Regions from separate parts of the Homo sapiens genome. Here regions 1 and 3 are each linked to region 2. The links are contacts of gene promoters, found by promoter capture Hi-C in blood cells and fetal thymus (Javierre and others, 2016). All regions are on one chromosome and are shown on one strand. The core of a region is centred on a gene start or on the middle of the fragment in contact, and the rest is flanking DNA. Distances in the headings are between cores, read along the strand shown. Region 1 has its middle 6.9 kb from the start of PDHA1. Region 2 holds the start of SH3KBP1 (SH3 domain containing kinase binding protein 1). Region 3 overlaps PDHA1 (pyruvate dehydrogenase E1 subunit alpha 1).

Region 1 (2,700 bases), core at 39-2,538, 550 kb after region 2:
CAACCTCTTCCATCAGGGTGCTAATTCCATTCAAAGGGGCCTGGGGGAGTGGGGCAGAGCTCCATCCTCATCATCTAATCACCTCCCAAAGGCCCCGCTTCCTGATACCCTCACATTGGAGGTTAAGTTTCAGTAGATGAATTTTAGGGGGCACATTCAGACCTCAGCACTGAGGAGGAGACCTTCTAGCTGTGGTCTGAGCGCTGAGCACGAGGTTGGCAATAGATTGTCCTGGTCCTGTTAGACCTCATTAAAGATTTAGACACTTTTCCTAAGAATAATGGGAAGCCAGAGAAGGATGTTCATGTCAGCTTTGCATTTTGTAAATATGGAAGATGAGCTGTGCCCTCTCATGACAGGATCCTAAAGGAAATTAATGGAAGGAGGTGCCATAGTGTGTTCAGGAGAGCACGGGGTTCCTGAATCTAAGATAGGTGAACCACAGTGAGTATGAGCATATCTTTCTATATGATTTTTAAAATAGAGACAGGGTCTCGCTATGTTGCCCAGGCAAGTCTCGAACTCCTGGGCTCAAGCGATCCTCCCACCTCAACCTCACAAAGTGCTGAAATCAAAGGCATGATCCACTGCACTCGGCCCATCATGTCTTTCTATTATCCAATGGAGATATGTGGAAAAATACATATTTTAATAGGGAAGATTTTAGGCACACACTGATGAGTCTGGCCTGAAGTTACTATCAATCATTTTCTGTGGCTGATCCCCAAACGGAAGCAGCCTTTGGAAACCTAAGAACTGTCCTACGGAGAGGCGGCCTAGCATCTGGACTCTGGCACCAGTCTGCCTGGTCTCAAATCCTGGCTCAACGACTTACCAGCTGTGTGACCTCGGGCAATTTGCCTAAACTCTCTGTGCTTCGGTTTCCTCGTCTTTAAATGGAGCATAATGACAACATTCATCTCATAGGGCTGGCTGTCATAAAGCTTATATGGATTAATATTTGTCAGGCACTTAAGACAGAGCCCCATCCTTAATGAGCACTATACTAGAATCTTGTGACTATAAGTAAATATGCAAATCTTTTCACTTCTTGGTGACCTGGGTCCTCACTGGTAAAGCAAAGCTTAGAAATTTCTATCTTCTGGCTTGGAGCAGTGGCTCACGCCTGTAATCCCAGCACTTTGGGAAGCTGAGGTGCCACTGACCCCTTCTTCCAAATGTATTATTTTGTCTCTTGTCTTTTATTCCCACGTTCAGTCCCCTTTGTTCAGTCCCCCTAGGTCCGTGCGGGTTACACTGAGCCAGGGAGGGTACACTTGAACCCAGGAGGCAGAGGTTGCAGTGAGCTGAGATCACGCCACTGCACTCCAGCCTGGGTGACAGAGTGAGACTTCGTCTCAAAAAAATATATATATATGCAGTTGGCTCAAAAGACTCTCAGGGCCGCCAGCCCTCGTGTGAATAGAGTCTAACCGTCTGACAAGCCACCTGTTTGGGTCTGCCTGGGATCAACACTTCATGAAGAAGCTTGTCACGGTTCCCAGAAGGAGAGAACAGGCCCTTGCCAAGCTTAAGGGAACAGGATGTATGGCACATTTTGTGCCTGCATAAATAAATGATCTGGATAGAATTCTGTCTATGACTTCTTTTTTTGTAGCATAATAGGTTATAGAGAAGGAAGGAGACAAAGAGCTTCATCTGCTTTAATTGTGGGACACAACCCTATTTATCCAACTGACATGGTGTCAAAGGGCCACATTCATTCACTCGTCCAACAGATATTTCAAGAGTGCCTATTCTAGGATGCAGGGCTATAAAAACCAGACAAAACCCTACATTGTAAAGTGACTTAGATCAGGTTGTAAAAACTGTTTTCAAAAGCAACTGGTAGATTTAATCAAAAGATATCCCGAGCTGCACACAGTGGCACATGCCTGTGGTCCCAGCTACTCAGGAGTCGGGAGGATCACTTGAGCACAGAGTTTGAGACCAGCCTGGGCAACATAGTGAGACCCCAACTCAAAAAAAAAAAAGGTATCCTGAGTTCTTTGGAAAGGCTCCAGAAAGCCAAGATTTCAAATCTCTACAGTTCTTCAAAGATGAAAGAATTGCGAAAATCATATAGGAAAGAACCCACTTATGTGGGCAACTAAAATTTAAGGAGTTGAGGACTTAGTAATTCTCAAAGTGCACCTCAGACAAGCAGCATCAACACAAACTGGGAAATCTGTTAGAAATGCACGTTCCCAGACCCCATCCCAAACCTCCTGAATAAGAAACTCTGGGAGTGGAAACCTGCAATCTTTGATTTAAAAAGTTCTCCGGGCTGGACACGTTGGCTCACGCCTGTAATCCCAGCATTTTGGGCGGCTGAGGTGGGAGGACTGCTTGAGGTCAGGCATTTGAGACCAGCCTGGCCAACATGGTGAAACCCCACTGCTACTAAAAATACAAAAATTAGTTGGGCGTGGTGGTGCACCTGTGGTCCCACCTACTTGGGAGGCTGAGGCAGGAGAATCGCTTGAGACTGGGAGGTTAAGACTGCAGTGAACTGTGATCACACCACTGCCCTCCAGCCTGGGTGCTAGAGCAAGACCCTGTCTCAGAAATAAAATAAAATAACAAGCTCTCCAGGTATTTTGGATGCCAAGTTTGAGGACCATAGATGTACTTTTTAACAAAGGACAATTCCGCCAGGTGGCATTCCAACATGAGAAATAACAAACAGATCTGTTCTGC
Region 2 (2,700 bases), core at 117-2,616:
AGACCCTGACTTTGAGGTTTTTTGAAAAACTCATGAAACAGTTATAAGAACAATTTTCTACAGAAATCCCAGGACGGTAACCAATTTACAAGAGTTGCCCCGCCAACACAGGTGAGGTATGGAGACAGCCCCTCTCTTGGGTAGGGGGTCGGCTTTCATTTGTCCCTTTTGAGTCCACTAGCCCTCAGCCTCCTCCATTTCCAGGGGCCACTGATGTAATTTCTCTATTGTCTTACGTGCTCTTTGCCTAAATGTCTCCCATGTAGTTCACTATCGCTTCCTACCACCAGATGGTGGAAAGGGAAAAGGAAATAACGGGCCGGTAGAGGAATGTGGTGGCAGGCAGAGTATCTATGGCGAAAGGTGTGGTGGTGAATGGACCCAAAACGGAGCTTCTGAATTGCCCACGAATGCCCACGGATTCCCTGTTAACATTTTAGCGCCCACTCAAGGGTCGGCCGTCCAGGTCTGGGAGTCAGTAAGGCACAATAATGCCTGCTAGGGAGGGAGCCAGCCCTCATCTCAGCGGATTCCTGGGAACGTCAGAGCTCGGGAACATTCCTGAACACCCGAACCGCACCTGGCCCAGGCACTGGGGCGGGGCTTAGGCGGGTCCCAGCGAGGCGATGCGTCCCCTCGGCCCCGCTGCGTCCTTCGCCCGTTTTTCCCCACGTCAGTGCCACCGCCTCCTCTGTGCGGAACTCGCACCTGGCCTGCCTGCGTTCCCACGCCCCACCGAAGGGACGCCGCGTTTCTCTCCCTTCCAAGGGACCCTTTTCCTTCCCCTCCAACAGCCCCCCGGGAAAACTCATTCCAGATTGCCTCGATGCCCCAGGGCCACCTGCCATCACCCTGGTCAGGCGTTTGGCCCCGGGCCTGCCCTGGTCTCCATCCCCAGCCCGTCCTCCACCTCTTGTCGCCCCCTCCCGCTCAGCCCCCTTCTCCTCCTTCTCCACGTGCCCCTGCACTCCCACGCCCCTCCCCCAAGAAGCCCCTCTCCTCCGGTCTCGAGGAGTCTCGCGGCACTTCCCGGGGCGTCAGCCCAGCCGCTGCGGGTGGGTGGCAGCCGCGCGGAGAGGGGTGCCTCTGGCGCGGGCGGTGAGGAGGGCGCCCAAGCCCCTCAGCCGCAGGGACGCCCCCGGCGCCTGCCCCGACGCGGCCCCGGCCCCGGCCCCGCCCCTCTCCGGCCCCGCCCCCGCCCGGCGGCCGCGCGTCCCCGGCAGGCGGAGCTGCAGGAGCCTCGCGGCAGCGCTGAGGAGGAGGGGAGAGCGGGCGGCGCGGCCGCGGCTGCCGGGCGCTGGGCTGGGCGGCGCTGTTTTTTTTTTTTTTTTTTTTTTTTTTTTTTTTTTTTTTTTTTTTTTTTTCGCAATTTCCACTCGCGGGGAGCAGGAAACCCGGCGCAGCCGGGCGCATTGGGCCGCGATGCAACAGCAGCAGCAGGAGTCGCCCCGGGGCAGCAGCGGCAGCAGCAGCAGAGGCAGCAGCGGGCGGCGCTGAGCCGCCGCCGCCGCCACTGAGGAAGAAGCCGGCCCAGCCGCCGCCGCGTCCGGACCCTCGCGCCTGGATCCCAGCGCCCCGATCCCGGCGCCCCAACCCCCACGCCCGCCTCCGCCAACTTTCACGCTGCCTCGGCGGCCCGGCCCGGCTCGACGCCAATGGGTGAGTGGGGGCCGCCCGCGTCCGGGCGTCCACTTCAGCCTTGAGGGCGGCGCGCCAGTCCCAGAACCGCGGAGCCCGGGAGGGCGCCCCGGGGGCAGGGTCCGGACGGGGGACACCGCGGTGGGCGCCCTCGCCTGCCTCGCGCACCCCCATTCACTCCCACTTGCGCCCGTGTGCCCGCCGAGCCCGCGCGCGGCGCCGACGGGAACCCGCGGGGGCCTGAGCAGACGATCACGGGGGCTGGCCCCGGGCGGCTCGGGCTGAGGGATGCAGGGGGTGTGGTTGGTTTTTCGGGTGGGCGGGGAGAGTTTTGTCTTGGCCATTTTTGCACCCGAGCGCGCCCTCCTCTGCGCTGCGGACACGGGCACCCGGACCTGGTGGGCTCCGGCCCTGCGCGGGGCTGCTGGTGTCTTCCTGGTCCTGTCTCGGGGGAAGCTGGAACCTCGGGGTCTTGGAGGGGGCTGGGTTGCCTTTGCTGGGGGTTGACAGGGGTTGGGGGGTGGGGCGGGAAACGCCCCAGTTCCTGGTCTGGCTCGCAGTCCCGGGGTCCAGAGCACCTGACGCTCCTCTCCTTGCGCCCCCCTTCCTCCCGGCCCCGACCCTTTCGCTGCTGCCTTCCTCCAGCCTGGCGAGCTCTCTGCTCCGTGATGCTAAAAGGCCACTTCCCATACTGTCCTTTAAGTCTTCAGGGTCTGGGACCTGGAAATGGTGATCCGGTCTTTGATTTACTGAGTAAACATCAGTTCGAAGTAGCCAACTAACCTTTGAACCCCCTGGGTCCCATTTGATTTAGACCCCGGAGCATTGGAACCACCTTGCTGCCCAGAGAAGCTGCCACTTTATTGGCAAGGCACTTATGATTACTTGGGCTATTAAATGTTTGGTCTACCCAGGTAATGTTCTTGCTGACAGCCAGCTTCTGTTTTTCAGCCTCTGGCAGATTATTTTTGGATGTTCCTAGGCCAGGCATAGGAAGGCTGCAGATAATAATAAATCATAATAAAGTGAGACCTTTCTGTGTTCAGGTAATAGGATTCCAGT
Region 3 (2,700 bases), core at 201-2,700, 530 kb after region 2:
GTAGAGTATGCCAGGTGTAGACTTGGGGTAATGCCTACAAAAGCTAAATGCCCCCAAGATACTACACTACCATCAGCCCTGTTTTATGTAACAATTTCCCTCTACAATTAAGGTATATAACACTCTTTCTTTAAAAATTGCTGCTTGTGCTCACACACACTATACACTGTAGGCATTTTCAGAAAGCTTTCTTATTAGGAGGCACTGCTTTCAGATAACTTGATGCCCAACACAACTGCGTACATGAAGTGAACTGGTATCTAGCTCCAAAAGCAAATACTGAAATGTGTTGCTTTTGCCATGTAACACCATTCAAAGCCCACCCCTATGGAAACCACACTGCCCATGAGCGTACCTGACTCCAGGGTCACTCATACTGTGTCCGTGGTAACGGTAAGTCTGCAGCTCCATCAGGATGGGCCCCTAAAACAGAACCGGTAGGCAGTTAGTTAGTTAGGAACGATGACTGGAAGAACAGGCCGGCAATCCACGGCCTCAAACGCAGGCCCTTTATTAAGCGTCCAGTGTAGTCTTATCAGATCTTCTGAGTTGTCACGAATTTCTTATTGGTTGACTGATCTGTTCTCATTTCTAGCAAGTATTGATTGCATATTTCATCTTTCTCATTTTTAATAAGGCAATCTGCCAACAGCTTGTTTTGAATCAAAAAGGCTTTGAAGGCCAGGCATGGTGGCTCATGCCTGTAATCCCAGCACTTTGGGAAGCTGAGGTGGGCAGAGCACTTGCGCCCAGGAGTTCGAGACTAGCCTGGACAACATGGCAAAACCCCATCTCTATCAAAAAATACAAAAATTAGCCAGGCATGGTGGCGTGCGCCTGTAGTCCCAGCTACTTGGGAGGATCACCTGATTCTGGAAGGTCAAGGGTGCAGTGAGCTGTGAGTGTGCCACTGCGCGAGACCCTGTGAAAAAAGAAAAAGGCTCTGAGCATGTTCTAGAGCCTCCTGCTATTGGCTAGACAGATTTCCATCTCATGCTCCTTTCTCATGGTGTGTTGTGGGGCTGGCAGCCACTCCTACTTCACAGACCTTGCTAGTGTGTAACAAAGTTGGCAGGCACCAACAACCTCTGCTACCCAAACCCCAAGGCTCTGCTGGGAGTCTGGACAGTTGGGCTCGCTCATTCTACACTAGCCCACTTCCAGGAGACGGCTCTGAACACTGGGGTGGAGAAACATTGAGGATCCTTGGTTGGTTTGGTGCAGCAGTTAAAATGGGCGAGTGGGGAGCTGGCTCCAAGACAGAGTAGCTGTGTACCTTTAACTGCTCTATGGCTCAGTTTCCTTGTCTGCAAAATGGGCAAAACAATAACACCTAACTCAGAATTGTGAAGGTTATCTGTTTGGGAAAGTCACACATTCTACAACTACATTCTACAACTCCCCTTGTCTCCAGCCAGGGCTGGCCCCCATGTATTCTTTTCAGGAATTGGGAGAGGTGGCGTCAATACCCATCACTCAGGGCCTGGCACTCCCAGCCTTAGGGTCCTGACATAGACTGCTCAGCCCATTGTACCCAAGCTGTAGTCTTGGTCCTGCTCTAGTTCATTCTACTCATTAGCTCTTATTTAATGTTACTACATTCCCACCCTCACTTCCCTGTCTCTCCACTTTGTGACATTTCCATCATTGCTGGCCACATCTGATTCACATCACTGCCTAAACGTACATGGTATGGCGCTGAAGTGCCAACTTCAGAAACCTTGTTTCTGGGCTGTAGAACACTGATTTAGGGAGAACACCCAAACCTCCTAAGCCTATACTAGTGCCAAAGGAAGTGAAACCTCTTTAGGCCAGTCTCCCTCTTACCATCTCCCTCACTGCCATACACTGAAAAGGGAAAGATCCTTAGGACTGAGCAAGACTAAGATTACGAGCTTCTACCATACTGTTTAATTTGTATAAGACACACATATTAAATGCCTATTGTATACATGACATTCTATGCTGGACACTGTGGGGATCCCCAATCTGTTCCTTCAAGGGACTCATGATTAATGGGGGGTGGGGAGGAGGGACAGAATTAACCTAAGGAAAAGGCAAATCAGTTGTCATGAAGACAGGCCAAAGCAGAGGAAGCACCAGAACGGACTTCCCCCAAATGAGAGAAACGTAGGCTTCCCAGCAGGTGAGCTACCAAGACCAAGCTACCCAAAGGAGCCCTGCTCCCTTCACTCTGCTTCCATCTCATGCACCTCAATTAGCAGGTACCCACTAACAGCTTCAGCAGGCACATGGGAGGCAGTCTTTGAACTTCCAGAGATAAATGTCACTAGCCCAGAGGGCTTTAGAGCCTTACCTTCCCAGATCTACAATAGGCAGCAGCAAACCTTGTTGCCTCTCGGACGCACAGGATATCCATTCCATCCACCTGGTAATAAACAGGGGAGGGGCGAAGCATGAATCCAACTGCCCCAAACCATTTTACTTTCACATGACCTGCTCCTGTATGAGAATGAAACTCTCCAATGTTTCTAAGATCGTCAAGGGTCTGCACAAGGACATACCCTTGGCCTTGGCCTTGGCCCCGGCCCCACCACAGGTGTCCTTACTCTCAGCCCAGGAATGAAATCGCCTCTCTTGTAGTAATCAGTGCTGGCTGCCGCTCTCTCAACAGACGTTCCCATTCCATAGCGATTATTCTCACAGATGAAAATACAAGGTAATTTCCACAAAGCTGCC

Evidence for each region. Contacts are between HindIII fragments. The CHiCAGO score rates a contact against its expected background, and 5 or more counts as called.
Region 1: a contact is called between a fragment that was not itself captured here and the fragment with the promoter of SH3KBP1 in region 2, in 1 of 17 cell types (neutrophils). The highest score is 5.6, in neutrophils.
Region 3: a fragment that was not itself captured here is called in contact with the fragment with the promoter of SH3KBP1 in region 2 in 5 of 17 cell types (neutrophils, total CD8 T cells, M1 macrophages and 2 more); the score reaches 10.4 in neutrophils.

The regions. Positions count from the first base shown.
Region 1 is chrX:19,335,723-19,338,422 of GRCh38, reverse strand. No RefSeq gene overlaps it. Among named protein-coding and RNA genes, the nearest start is that of PDHA1, 6.9 kb to the left of the region's middle. The HindIII fragment of the contact is 404 bases long and covers 1,087-1,490 here.
Region 2 is chrX:19,886,266-19,888,965 of GRCh38, reverse strand. SH3KBP1 (SH3 domain containing kinase binding protein 1) reads left to right here and starts at 1,366. Exons shown (of 18, transcript NM_031892.3): 1 at 1,366-1,659. The coding sequence starts at 1,656. RefSeq lists silencers at 915-1,214, 1,275-1,344, 1,825-1,964. The HindIII fragment of the contact is 9,463 bases long and covers 1-2,700 here.
Region 3 is chrX:19,355,375-19,358,074 of GRCh38, reverse strand. It overlaps PDHA1 (pyruvate dehydrogenase E1 subunit alpha 1), which reads right to left. Exons shown (of 11, transcript NM_000284.4): 7 at 2,571-2,700; 8 at 2,318-2,389; 9 at 356-423. Among named protein-coding and RNA genes, the nearest start is that of PDHA1, 13 kb to the right of the region's middle. The HindIII fragment of the contact is 2,524 bases long and covers 189-2,700 here.